Regions from separate parts of the Homo sapiens genome. Here region 2 is linked to region 1. Evidence: promoter capture Hi-C in 16 types of primary human blood cells and fetal thymus (Javierre and others, 2016). All regions are on one chromosome and are shown on one strand. Each heading gives the region's core, a stretch centred on a gene start or on the middle of the fragment in contact. The rest is flanking DNA. Distances are from core to core; before and after follow the strand shown. Region 1 holds the start of PHYHIP (phytanoyl-CoA 2-hydroxylase interacting protein). Region 2 overlaps PEBP4 (phosphatidylethanolamine binding protein 4).

Evidence for each region. The method cuts DNA at HindIII sites, captures the fragments that hold promoters and counts their contacts. A CHiCAGO score of 5 or more calls a contact.
Region 2: a contact is called between a fragment that was not itself captured here and the fragment with the promoter of PHYHIP in region 1, in 2 of 17 cell types (non-activated CD4 T cells and naive CD4 T cells). The highest score is 6.1, in non-activated CD4 T cells.

What each region holds. Positions count from the first base shown.
Region 1 is chr8:22,228,714-22,234,901 of GRCh38, forward strand. PHYHIP (phytanoyl-CoA 2-hydroxylase interacting protein) reads right to left here and starts at 3,386. Exons shown (of 5, transcript NM_014759.5): 1 at 3,083-3,386. RefSeq lists enhancers at 1,921-2,090, 3,016-3,763. The HindIII fragment of the contact is 17,584 bases long and covers 1,126-6,188 here.
Region 2 is chr8:22,915,186-22,921,373 of GRCh38, forward strand. It overlaps PEBP4 (phosphatidylethanolamine binding protein 4), which reads right to left. Exons shown (of 7, transcript NM_144962.3): 3 at 4,999-5,125. Among named protein-coding and RNA genes, the nearest start is that of PEBP4, 9.6 kb to the right of the region's middle. RefSeq lists an enhancer at 4,361-5,289. The HindIII fragment of the contact is 1,575 bases long and covers 2,263-3,837 here.

The DNA.
Region 1 (6,188 bases), core at 2,136-4,635:
GCCAGCAGGCGTGAAAAGAGAAAGGGGTGGGGGTGGAGAGGACGGGTGAGAGGCGGAGGAAACGCAGGAAGCACCTGCTGTGGAGCGGAGGTGCGAGGCTTGGGGCAGGTGACAGCCAAGAGCTCACAGGTGCCAGGGCCCTCGGATTCAGGCCTCTCTCCTCACTGGGGTCAGCAAGCGTTGCCGCGGTACATGGCTGGAAGGACAAGTGCCACGTTGGTGCATGTGGACACATTCGTGGTGGGAGGGGTACGCGGCACAGCCGGCTTCAAGCTCTTTTTCCACCCATAACTTTTTTTGATGATCCCTCTTTCTCTTTCGGCCAATCTTCTCTTGACTCCTTTCAATCATGACTTTTAACATTAACATCTATTAGGGGCCGGCCATGTGCTCATAATTTCACAGACGTCTCATGCAACCTTGGAAGTAGGCACACACTATCATTATCTCCATTTTACAGATGAGGCGACTGAGGTTGGGGAGGTACTAACATGCCCAAGGCCACGCAGAGAGCAAATGATTTGAACTCCGGCACCCAAGCTCTTGATCACTAAGCTAAGATAGTGTCCCCTCATGTGTGGGGGTGGAGGGGCACATGTGTGGCGTGTGTGCATGCATGGGTGCCCATGGTGTTTCCACCTGGCATTTTTCCTCCTTCCATCGTTTCCTTTCAAGCAACTGCATTTTCTCTCCCCTCCCTGTCTTACTCCTTTGGTTCTCCCCTTATGTCTGCTGCTCGTCCAGGTATGAGAGGACCTCATCACGGTCACTCTCATGTGTGCTTTAGCTGGGAAGAGCTGACTCTGGCCATGACTCTGGCCTGGCTGGCCTAGCTCCGGGATGGGGAAGAGCAAAGGGAAGGGGAGTGACAGCGTCTGGGAGGGGACAGCAGACGTGGGTGGGGCATTCTCCAGGGGCATTTGGTCTCCTGCTTTCCAATCCCTTCCTCCAGCCCAGTTCCTGGCACCCCTCATTTTTCTAAATGTCACCTCCTTCTCTTCTTTCTCCCCTCTTTTTCTCCTCCCCTTGCCCAGGAGCTAGTGGTGAGGGCATCTTGTGCCTGCAAAAGCAGGTACTTTTATTTATAGCTTCCAGAGGATCCAGCCCACACCTTCCTGTCAATTAAGCTTGCTCCAGAGCCTGGCACCTCTGTATTAACCTGTGAGTTGCCTGGATGGCAAGTACAGGGTGAAGGCTAAAGGTGATGGCCCTTACCTGCTCCAGGTGTCACTCAAGTCCTGTTTCATCTTAGCCTCCCACCCCACAGCCAAATGCCGGTGGCTTTGTGCATGGGGAATCCTATGGTAAATAAGCATGGCGGTGCTACCAGGCCCACCCCAAAATCAGGCAGATGGGATTGAGTGTCTGGAAACAACCCTACCATAATAAACCAGTTTGTAATTCATGGGGACAGGTGTGGAGCAGTGGGGAGTTACCATCTCTTGGGAACCTGGTGAGAAGCTCCCAGGGAGACACACATGTGCCCCTCACACACACACACGCACACACACACACGAACACAGACACACTCCTACCCAAGAGGCCCTGAGCGGCACCCACCCACACGCTCGGAGGCAGCCCACACTCGTCCCATGAGTAGGCACCTATTCCTGCCTCTCCTTGGAGTCCTCCTAGAAATAGGGGCAGCTGTGTTTGGCGGTAGGGGTCTCCAGGACCTGGGTGTCTGCTTGTCCCTCCCTCCCTACGGTTCTGGGAAAGCTGAGATGACATCCCCCCGCTAGCTTGGGAGGGTGGCAGTGAGTGAGCTGGGGTGGACAGAGGGGTGGGTGTGAACCCAAGTTCTCTACACCCAGAAGACTGGGGAAGGGCAGGGTGTGAGGGACAGGTTGAGGCAACACCCGAGAAACACCCACACTCCTGTGTGGATCCACCCCAAGACAGGCATGTACACACCCACACACAGGCAGGCACGCACGCGCATACACACATGCGCCAAGAGTGCCCACCCACCCGCGTCCCACACCTCCGCAGATGTCCTCACTCCCACACACCCATCTCCACATTCAGGTGCCTGCTGCCACCTTCCACATTCTAAGAATGCCCCACAGTTTTCCCTCTTCAATCTGTCACCTCCATGCACACCCAGACATGTTCATGTCCACAGGCTCACGCACACACACGTCCACGCACACCGCCTCACAAGCCATATGTGGGGAAAAGAGGATGCCACAGGCACCAACATGCATGTGTGCCACCTCCACAAGAAGGCACGCAACCCACACGCCTGCCGGCACACACATGTGTGTTCATACACACAGCAGCCCCCGCCCGAAGTCTGGTATTCTCTCTCGAATCATCTCCAGGCTCAAAGACAGACTTTGAAAATGTGTTTGCCTCTGGCCACACTCTGCCAGCCCTGAGCCTTCATGCCAACAGGTTTGTGCACCTACGTGGCTCTGCCCACAGACAATGGTTTCTGCCCCTTCTTCTCTTTACCCACTCCATCCTGCTCTGGGTCTCACCTCCCCATATAGAAAGCCCCTGTCTGCATACACTCCCACACACATGAAAAGGGACATGGTTACCCCTAAATATACTGCCTCATAGTGTCCCCACCCACGCACACCCACAGGCTACTCAAATAAGTCCCCCACACACATGTACCTCACGTGTGCCAGAAAGATATGTTTCTAGACATGCCTCACACCATTCAAAACCCACACATGAGCATGACTGCGGACAGACGGACCTATCTGCGCCAGCAAGCCTCCAGCCAACTCGCGAGCGCGCACACACACACGCCGCGCACACCGGTGCCCCTTCCCCATGCCCATTCAAACAGCCACCCTGCCACAGGGAATGCTTCCCCCACCCTGCTGTCCCTGTTGGCATCGCTGACTGCAGCAGAACGGTCACGGGGTGACTAACTGTGGTGCCCCAGAGACTGGATTCAGCCATTAACCACTTTGCCAAAGGCCTGGCCGGGGGGGGGGAGAGGGGACAAGGTCGTCAGGCCTGGCAGTCCAGGTGGGCACCCTGGGTGGTGGCAGGACCCTAGAGCCCCCAGATCCCGGCTACTCAGGATCAACAGCAGCAGGTTCCAGGGAGGAAGGGTACTCACCTGGCTCCACTGGGCTCTGCAGAGGAAAAGCTCGCAGGGAGGACAGGGAGAGACCTCTGCGTGGATGAGCTCCCCGGCAGGGGACAGCAGCCGGACGCCTGGGTCACGGGCAGTGGCGTGCGCTTGCTCCTCTCCCGGCTGCCAAGGAGGCTGCTTCCATGCCCCGCAGCCAGCTCCTGTCTGGCTGTGCAGCGCGTCGCTGCTGCCCCTGGTGAGACGATGTTCCCAGCTGAGCAGCGCAAGAAGAGAGGCAAGAGCGAAATCAAAGCAGCGTGGAGGAGAGAGAGGCAGAGAAGGGAGAAAGAACGAGAGAGCCAGACCGAATCTGCCTCCACCAATGGGATCAGCGGCTGCGCAGCGTCAGGTGATAATAAGCAGGCTTGGTCCCTGCTCGCCGGGCTGGTGGGAGGGGGAAAGGGCAGAGGGTCTCCCAGGGAGCTACACAGATGTCCTCAGGGACAGCAACACACGCCGCCTTTCCCCCATTCTTCCAGGACAAGCTGCCCTCAGAAGTCCCTCCAACACACCCCCTACTTGGAAATCTCTGACTTGAATGCAGCCCCCAAACTTTAGGATGCTGGGAGAGGGGTGGAGCTTAGCCAAGGGCTTGGGCCCCAAAGCAAAGACTCTGATTGGGGGAAGGGGAGGGAGGCTGTAGAGGGGAAAGGTCCAGATGGGGGGTGTGAAGCTGGGGTGGCTGTCTTCAGTCCGGAGCCTCTCCTTGGGGCCTTTTGGTGAACTGTGGTTCCATTTTCTTACCAACTCTAGAGAGAGATGGCAGACCTGCAGCTCAGGGATCCCTGTGGGTCTGGCAAGAACCCTCTGGCAGCTTGGGGGTCCACAGGAAAAGGGGCTGGGAGAGAGGCTGTGGCACAGTGCAGGGTGCACAGGGGTAAGAAAATGGGGGTGGGAGAACACACCAAGCTCTGAGTGTCCTCAGCCCACCCCACTCTCTGAGCACAAAGGAAGCCGGCCCTGGGCATCTTGGGGAGAGAATGTAATTCTGCTCTCACGGCAGCAGGAGGCTGTTCTGCCATCAAGAAGCAGACTCCGTGGAGGCCATCGGGAAGAACATCCAAGGAAATGTGAGTCCAGCAGCAAGCAGGGACAGAGGGTTGCGCAGTGGTGAAAAGCACAGGCTCACAGTCAGATGGATGTGCTGAGAATCCCTGCTCTACTGCTACCCAGCTGGGGGACCTTGGACAAGCCACTCAACCTCTCTTCATCTGTCAAGTGGGATCACACAGGTTTATTGTCATCATGGAATGAAATAATTAGGTAAATCGCCCAGCCCTGGGCCTGGCACATCAGAAGTGCCAGTCACATGTCAGAACTGTTCTTGTTCCCATCATATCGACAGCATCTTCCTGCAAGGAGCCCACAGTCCTCTACGGGAGAGAAGATGGCCATTTAGAGGATGCAATTAGAGAATGAGGAGCACACAACTAAATCGTAGGGCACAGATACTCATTCAGAGAAAGAACAATGGGCGGCTCCAGGGCACGTGCAGGGTGCAGGCCAGAGGAGGCTGTGGAAGCAGGAGTGCGGCTGGGGTGGGGAGGATTGGCACGGGGGCAGCTGACACCAGGCAGGCCCAGGGTGAGGTCTTGGTGAGCAGGAGAAGGTGTGAGCTGAGCCTAAGAAACACTCACCAAGAGGGAGTTGAGGCGGCAGGCCTCAGTGCAAAAGTCAGAGGAGGTAACAGCAGCAGAAAGTGAGAGTTCACAGAATGCAAAGACAAGCAGAAGCCAACCCTGCCTGAAACGGCTGTGAGAACCTCAGTGAGCCTGGCCAGGTCCTGAACTGCCGAATGTGGGGTGGTGCGTGGCACTGAGGCAGGACTAAGCACCCCCTTGGCCAAGCATGACTACGTCCTGCTCCGACATACCCACGCCGAGCTGGTGAGCTCAGAAGAGATGCAAAACGTAACCTCCTGGTGATGGCCAGCACATGACATCTGGACTACAATTCTGTCCCAGGCCGGGCGCAGTGGCTCACAAGAATCCGAACACTTTGGGAGACTGAGGCAGGCAGATCACCTGAGATCAGGAGTTCGAGACCAGCCTAGCTAACATGGCGAAACCCCATCTCTACTAAAAATATAAAAATTAGCTGGGTGTGGTGGTGGGCGCCTGTAATCCCAGCTACTTGGGAGGCTGAGGCACAAGAATCGCTTGAACCCGGGAGGTGGAGGTTGCAGTGAGCCAAGATTGCACCACTGCACTCCAGCCTGAGTGACAGAGTGAGATTGTGCCTCGAAAAATAAATAAATAAATAAATAATAAAATCCTGTCCCTAGGACCACACAGAGGGGCAGTGCAAGGAAAAAGGCAGGTTCTCTGTGACTTGGTTTCCCCTTCTGCCAAAGGAAAACTAGCCCCAGCACCATCCCTGCCTCCCACCTTCTCGGGATGTCATGAGGAGACTGCACGAGGTCCTGTGGCCCAAGCATGAGCAATAGCCATCTGAGCGCCCCTTTGTGGAGCTGCGTGCCGGCGACAGGTGAAGGCACAGCCCTTTAGGAGCTTCTGCCTCTTCTTGCCTCAGAGGACTTCTCTACAGATCACGAGAGGAAACACGTGGTAAGAGCAAACCATAGTGTGCCAAGTATAACTCACTCCCTATGAAACCAAACAACCGCCAAGATGCACTTCTGCTGCATTTTTATTTTTCATAACTTTTTATGACACAAGTAGCACATGATCATTGTAGAGAGACGAGCACATTTCATTTTAAAATTTAAGAGGGAATTTAAATCTCTCATTTTCCCACCATGCAGAAATACACATTAAATACATATAAAGAATTTTTTTAATTAATTTTTTTCGAGACAGGGTCTTGCTCTGTCACCCCGGCTGGAGTGCAGTGGCGCAAACTTGGCTCACTGCAACCTCTGCCTCCCTGGCTTAAGTAATCCTCCCACCTCAGTCCCCTGAATAGCTGAGAGTATAGGCGCACACCACCACACCTGGCTATTTTTTTTATTTTTTGTAGAGATGGGGTCTCACTGTGTTGCCCAGGCTGGTCCCAAACTCCTAAATGCAAGCAATCCACCCGCCTTGGCCTTCCAAAGTAGTTGGGATTACACAGGTGCGAGCCACCACAC
Region 2 (6,188 bases), core at 1,800-4,299, 690 kb after region 1:
TCTTACCTTTCTTCCATTCTTCCACCTGCTGCTGGAGTGACCTTCCCAAATTGCAAATCTGATCACATTTACCAGCCTAAAAATCAAATGGTGACTCTCCTCCCCCAGCCACCAGCCAAACTTTAAGATAAACTCTAAACTCCACACCAGGGCCATGAAGTTCTTGGCTCCTAACCATGGATGTGCCCCTGCCCTACCCGCCCCGACCCCCGACCCAACCACAAGCCTCATCCCTCACCTCACCATCCTGGCTCCCATCTGTCCCTTGCTGGGTCCCGGCTCACTGACACCCTGTGTCCCCATGCTTGCCCGCTACCTGTCTATCTCCCCAGCTATACTGCAAGCTCCGTGATAGTGTCTTTCGTCTCTGAATCAATAGCACTGACATGGTGCCTGATGCAATGTGTTCAGTAATATTTACGAAGTGAGTCACCGCCCATCCCCAACACCAAATAGTCCATGGCGGCTGCAGTCCCCTGAGCCAGTGGGCCTGCACTTGACCGCCTCCACATGTAGGAGAGGAGACTCCACATGTAGTCTACTGGAAGACGTCTCTGCTCCATCCATTAGGGTCTGTTCTTCTAGAATTGCTGTGGGTGTTGGGAGCCCCGTGTCCTTCCTCGGCTAATCATTTTGTGACTGCAGCAGCCTGTATTTTTCTGCTCTGTGTATACAGAGAAGGGTTGGTAGGGGCGGTGGACCTGTGAGTTCCGAGCTCTCTTATAGAGAGGAGAGTTCCAGGCCTCTAGAAAATTTGGGTTGAAACTTGTGTCTCCACCATGGGCCAATGAGGGCGAGAAGGTGCTCCCTGGGAGGCTGCGGCTAGAGGCCTGGGCTGGCATGAAATGCACTGACCCAGGTGGATAGGGCACTCAGGGCCACCTGCTTTGTGAGGAGAAGAAATAGTGCCTGGGCCAAGCCTGATTGGAAACTCCAGGGAGAGCAGGACAGACCGAGGCAGCCTTTTGTTCCCTCCCTGTAATGCAATGCACATTCCCCACTTAAAGGCAATTTCTGCACTTCAAAAGGATTCCAGCTGGCGAAATTTAAGGTGGAGAATAAGCCCCCAGTCAAGAAGCTTCTCAGGGGCCTTTCAGTTTTCCTTGGCTTGAGAACGGGATGCATTTTTAAATGTTTGCCTCTTCATGTTTGTCAGAGCGCCAGGGGAGAAACGCTTCCTCTTACTTCCACACCTCTCTCGCTCAGCCATAGCTGGCACGGGAGCCAGCCACGTTTTCCTGTGTTACTTTGCCTTCTCATGAACCTGCCTGACTTCCTCTCTTTCTCTGCCTGCTTCCCCACCCACCCCCCAGCTCACACCCCACCCCTAGGGGGAGGAGAGAGTCCTGCTGCCCTGGGTTCACTAGGTTTAGCAGCTTTCCTTCAACAGATGCTGAAAGGGCCGACAGTTTGGCTGACACAGCTCATAGCTCACACTCCAGGAGATGCTCTCCCACATGTCATTCATTCATTCATTCATTCATGCATTCATGCATTCATGCATTCACCTGTTCACTCTCTCACCTAGTCACCCAGTCAGCCAGCATGGCATCTGAGGTGCTGGTGGGGCCCACGGGTGACTCAAAGAAAGACAACACATAGTCTTTCTCTCCTAACTTACAAAGTGCTTGAAGCTTTGAGAGACAGGAATGAGCAACTACAGCACAAGACACAGGGAAGTCAAAACCCAGTTTAGAGGGTAGGAACATTTTAAAAGCACAGAGAAAGAAAAGATCAGCCAGGGATGTAGGTGGAGCCCAGAGGGAGGCAGTCAGGGAAGGCTTCCTAGAGGAGGAAGCATTGTGACGGGAGCAGGGTCCAAAGACGCCAAGGATGGGGAAGTGGCCAATGCCAGAATATGGAGGTGGGAAGCTCTATGGTGGGCACAGAGGCACTGCTGCACCCCTCTTTCCAGGGCTTTGGAGTTTGCTGGGGGCGGGGGAGGGGGGGGTGTTCCCAGGCATGTCCAATGGCAGTCACTGCTTTGGTGGCATTGCTTCAGTCACCTTGGAAGCAATGCACCATCCCCACATAGCAGTCACCAACTCGTGCCCTTCTCCATCAGGCCCAGAAGAAATACCTTCATGCTCTTCTCTGTCCTAAACACTCAGGCTCCCCGCACCCTTTTCTTGAGGGACCCAGGTAGCACTTGCTCCTCCAGCCTCACCAGTCATGCCCTCTCCCTTAAGGGAAGCTCCAACTACCACCTTCCCTAGGAAGAACTATCCTTCCTGCCCACCCCCTTCCATTCTAACCAGGGAAAGCTTCCCTTCGGCCAGCCCACCCCTGCCTGTGCCAGCGCCCCCTGGTGTCTCCCTTAGAGCCCTTGCCAGTGGCCCACTGGCCAGGCCCATGGGCTCTGGAGTTGGGCAGACCTGGCTTTGACTCTGGCTCTGGCACCTTTCAGCTCTGTACTTGGCCAGATTACTCACTTCCATAGGACCTGCCTTGCATTTCCTACCTAACATCCTTTCACCCTTATCTGATCAATCACACCTTGACTTGCATTCAGGGCAACCATCCTCCTCTACTCTCAGTCCTTGTAGATTAAGGGGAGCTGTAGAGGGTCACTGCTAGGTTCAGGGATAGGCACAAGACCAAAGCGAGACCAATCCTGTGACTTTTAATGGATGGAAAACCCTATTTCCACTGGGGTTGACAAATTGGTCAAACACAAACCTAAGGCTGTTGGGGCCATCTTTGTCACAAGGGAAGACTCTATTTACAAATGAAAACAGCACAGAAAAAAACAATCAAGAGACAGATTCCTGGTGACACTGAGCACCTGGATCCAGCCTCGCCTGAAGTTATCCCTGGAGTTTTCAGTTTTGTGAACCAATGTTTCCCCCTCTTTTCTGGCTTAAGCCGATTTGAGTTGACTTTTTGTCACATGCCATTAATAGTCTTGATGAAAGAAATACTTAACTTGGAGACTTAAATGAAAGGTCCGAGTAGTGCCCAGGAATGGAATAAGGTGGCACTCACTGACCACTTTGGCAAATCTCTCTGAATCTGCCTTCTCATAGGTCTGTTACATTTCCATAAACTATAGTTCCATAGTAGTAGAATACTATGTTTTTCTTCTTCCCACAGCTTCGATCAAATCTTCCTTTGTAAAATCTTCACTCTCCCAGGCTTTCTTGACCACAGCTCTGTGTTCCTCATAAATCTCTATGTTCCACATCCGTTTTCTCCCCACCCCACCCCCGGGCTGAGGCAGGATGGGTTTAACAGTACAAGACTTCAGGATGTGGCGTGGGTGATGTCGTCTTTGTGTAATGTGCTGATAAGCCAGGGCAACGAAACCAAATCAAACCAAAGACTTTCCCAACAGGCTTCAAATCCCTGCTCTGGAGGACACCAGGTGCTCAGAAAAGTCTACACTGCCATCTAGTGGATGTCTGCAGCATCATCAGCACGCGGAAGGGAGCCCTTTGGGGAGAATTCCCTTGGGACTGTCCCTGGCCTGTGAAAGCATCCGACTGACCCTCACTACATAAGGGACAAACCCCAAGACAAGTGAATGGATGGTGAAGCCGAGAGTCCTGTCCCGCAGAGTAGCATATACTCCTCTAAAAGATTGGGTTCCTGCCCGGCCTCTGCACCTCCCATCCCAGGAGTTAGAATCAGCAGGCTTCCTTTCTCTGCTCCTCTTGGCTGTCCACAGGTGTGCCCAGTCCAAGGGTTTCCAGGGAAGAGGGCTGACGCTGTGTGCACATGGGTGTGCATGCAAGTGTGTGTGTGCACATGTGCACACATGTGCACGTGTGCACTTTATTGCTCGTCTTCCCAAAGGAAAGGGTGTTTGTCGTGTTTGCAAACAAGACAACCTAGCAAAGCTTCATGACAACAGCCTCATAACTTGCGAGCCATATCACAATCTATTTGCTCTCTGATAGTGAAAAACACTTCAAAGAGAAGAGTCTATTCCCCGCATTGGAGTAACTTGTGTGCTGCCGCCCTCTGGAGCTTGTTGTCCTACTGGGCTTAGCTGACTGCATGAGGCCTAACCAAGGCAGCACTGAGGGGAAGGAAGAACCCCTTGTGGCCCTTCCCTGCCACCCTGCACAGAAAGGACCAGAAGGTCAGCCTTGGTGTGTGTGCTTGGTCACATCCCGGCCACGACCCTTCCATCTCCAGGCATTTGTGACCCAAGTCCTGCCTAGATTGACAGCAGCACCTCCTTCTAAAACACAGCAGAAAAGAGGCCAGTCTCCACCATTGACACTCTGCGGGCTCAGTCTGGCCCAGGAGTCAAGAAATAAAGAAGCGGAGACCAGAAGGCCAGATCAGCTTCCCCAAAACACACTCTGGCTGCTTAGGGCAGCAGCAGACCCATTTCCCACTTCTATGACTCTTCCCCAGGCTTTCCAGACCCCTAAATGTAATAGCACTAATCACTGCCCAGTAAAATAGTTATTTCCAGTTCCTAAAATGCTTTGTTCTTCTTTTACACAACTTTGGGCAAAAGAAGAGCGTGTCTCATGTTGTGACAACAAAGCGTCAAGATGCACTGACCTCTGCCTGTTTAGGCAACTTGGGAAGCTCTGTCTTGGTAAATACCAGCTTCTCTCCAGCCCAGAAGCCATCTGAAGGCCCAGGCACCCCGCGCCTTGAGAGAGGACTCCTCCCATACCACGCCTTCTTCCACTTATCTGCCAACTCCAAAGCACACACCAGCTGGTCTCCACCAGGCTTGGGGTCCCAGATCTCAGGGGCAGCCAAGGAGCTCCCAGAGCAGGGGAGCAGGAAAAGGCCTGGGCAGAATGGCCTCAACCATCACCAAAGTTTCCAGTCTGCAGCCCTCCCACCAGCCCCCAGCCTTCTCCTCAAGTCCACTCTAAGGAAGGCACAACTTTATGGCAACAGCCATCTGCAGCCACCAGACCCAACCCAGATGGCTCTGCACGCAGCTTCAAGTCACCCAGATGAGCAAGCCTGGAGGAACATCAAGACCCCCAACTGTCCCCCCGCTTTAACACAGCCCTGCTCACTCACGTCCACGGCCCCCGGGAACTTGACTATCGGCTCCATCCAGGAGGTGATCTTCTGTCTGTAGTTGTTACAATCAGGAACAACCTTGCAGCCAATGTTCCCCAACTCTGGGTAGAAAACTTCAAGGCCCCTATGAAGAGAGAGGGGAGGTTGCCCTGTGTCAGGGTTTTAAGGGAGCCTGGGGTTCCCAAGGCTTCAGTCTAGCACTATTGGGAATGTAAAGTGAAATGGGATCAAATCCTAAACCTGCCACTAACTAGTTGTGTGACCGAAGAGTTACTTGACCTCCTTGTGCCTCAGTTTCCTCACCTGTAAAACGAAGACACTAATAATTCCTCCCTCATGGAGTCAGTGTGAGAAGAAAAGTGGCGGTCAATGGTCAGAACAGAACCTGGCACGTTGTAAGTCATCAGAAAGTATAATATTAATTATCATCAGCCTTTACTTCCCTAGAAGAACAGATATCCTTAGGCAAACTTAGTGTCTTTAAAGTAGGATTGAGTTTATAAAAACAATACCTATAGATTGCTTTTCAGGAACATTCTTATTACAGAAAGAAAAGCTTAGCAAGTCAGCACAGCTTCCTTCAAGGGCATAGACCTTCTCTCTCCCCTAAACAATCAAGAGCTCCCCATGCCTGAAATCCCACCATTAGGTGAAGAATTGGCTTCTTTGGGTTAAGCATTGACTGTAGCCTAGGTTCTCTTTCAAAATGCAAACATCCCTCAGGGGGTAAAACACTGGCTCACTAAGACTGTCAGTATGAATGAACCAGTTCATGTATTTGCTCCCTGAGAAGAAGGGCCCGAACAGCACCAGGGTTCTAAGAATGTGGCTTCCTGGAAGGGAAGAAAATATGATGCAGAGCAAGGCAACAGAGCCTGCAGGGCAGGGCAGGCCGGGCTGGGCCATGACAGCACCAGGCTGGCTGTAAGTGCATGCTTATATTTGACACTCAGGAACACAGGTAAGATTTTTCAAAGACATTTTTTAAAACTGTTTTTGCTTGCCCTTCTATTATAATTTATCTCCATGACCTAAGTCCTCTGTAGGGTTAACGAGGGTTAAGACATCACTGAGAGAGAAAGGGTGTGGGTAGAGAGTGGGTGTTGCAGGTCCCCAGCCTTTCCTAACACCTTGCAGGGCTAAGCCGCTCTACAGCCTGCCGGTAGCCACCCACAGCGGTCCACAGT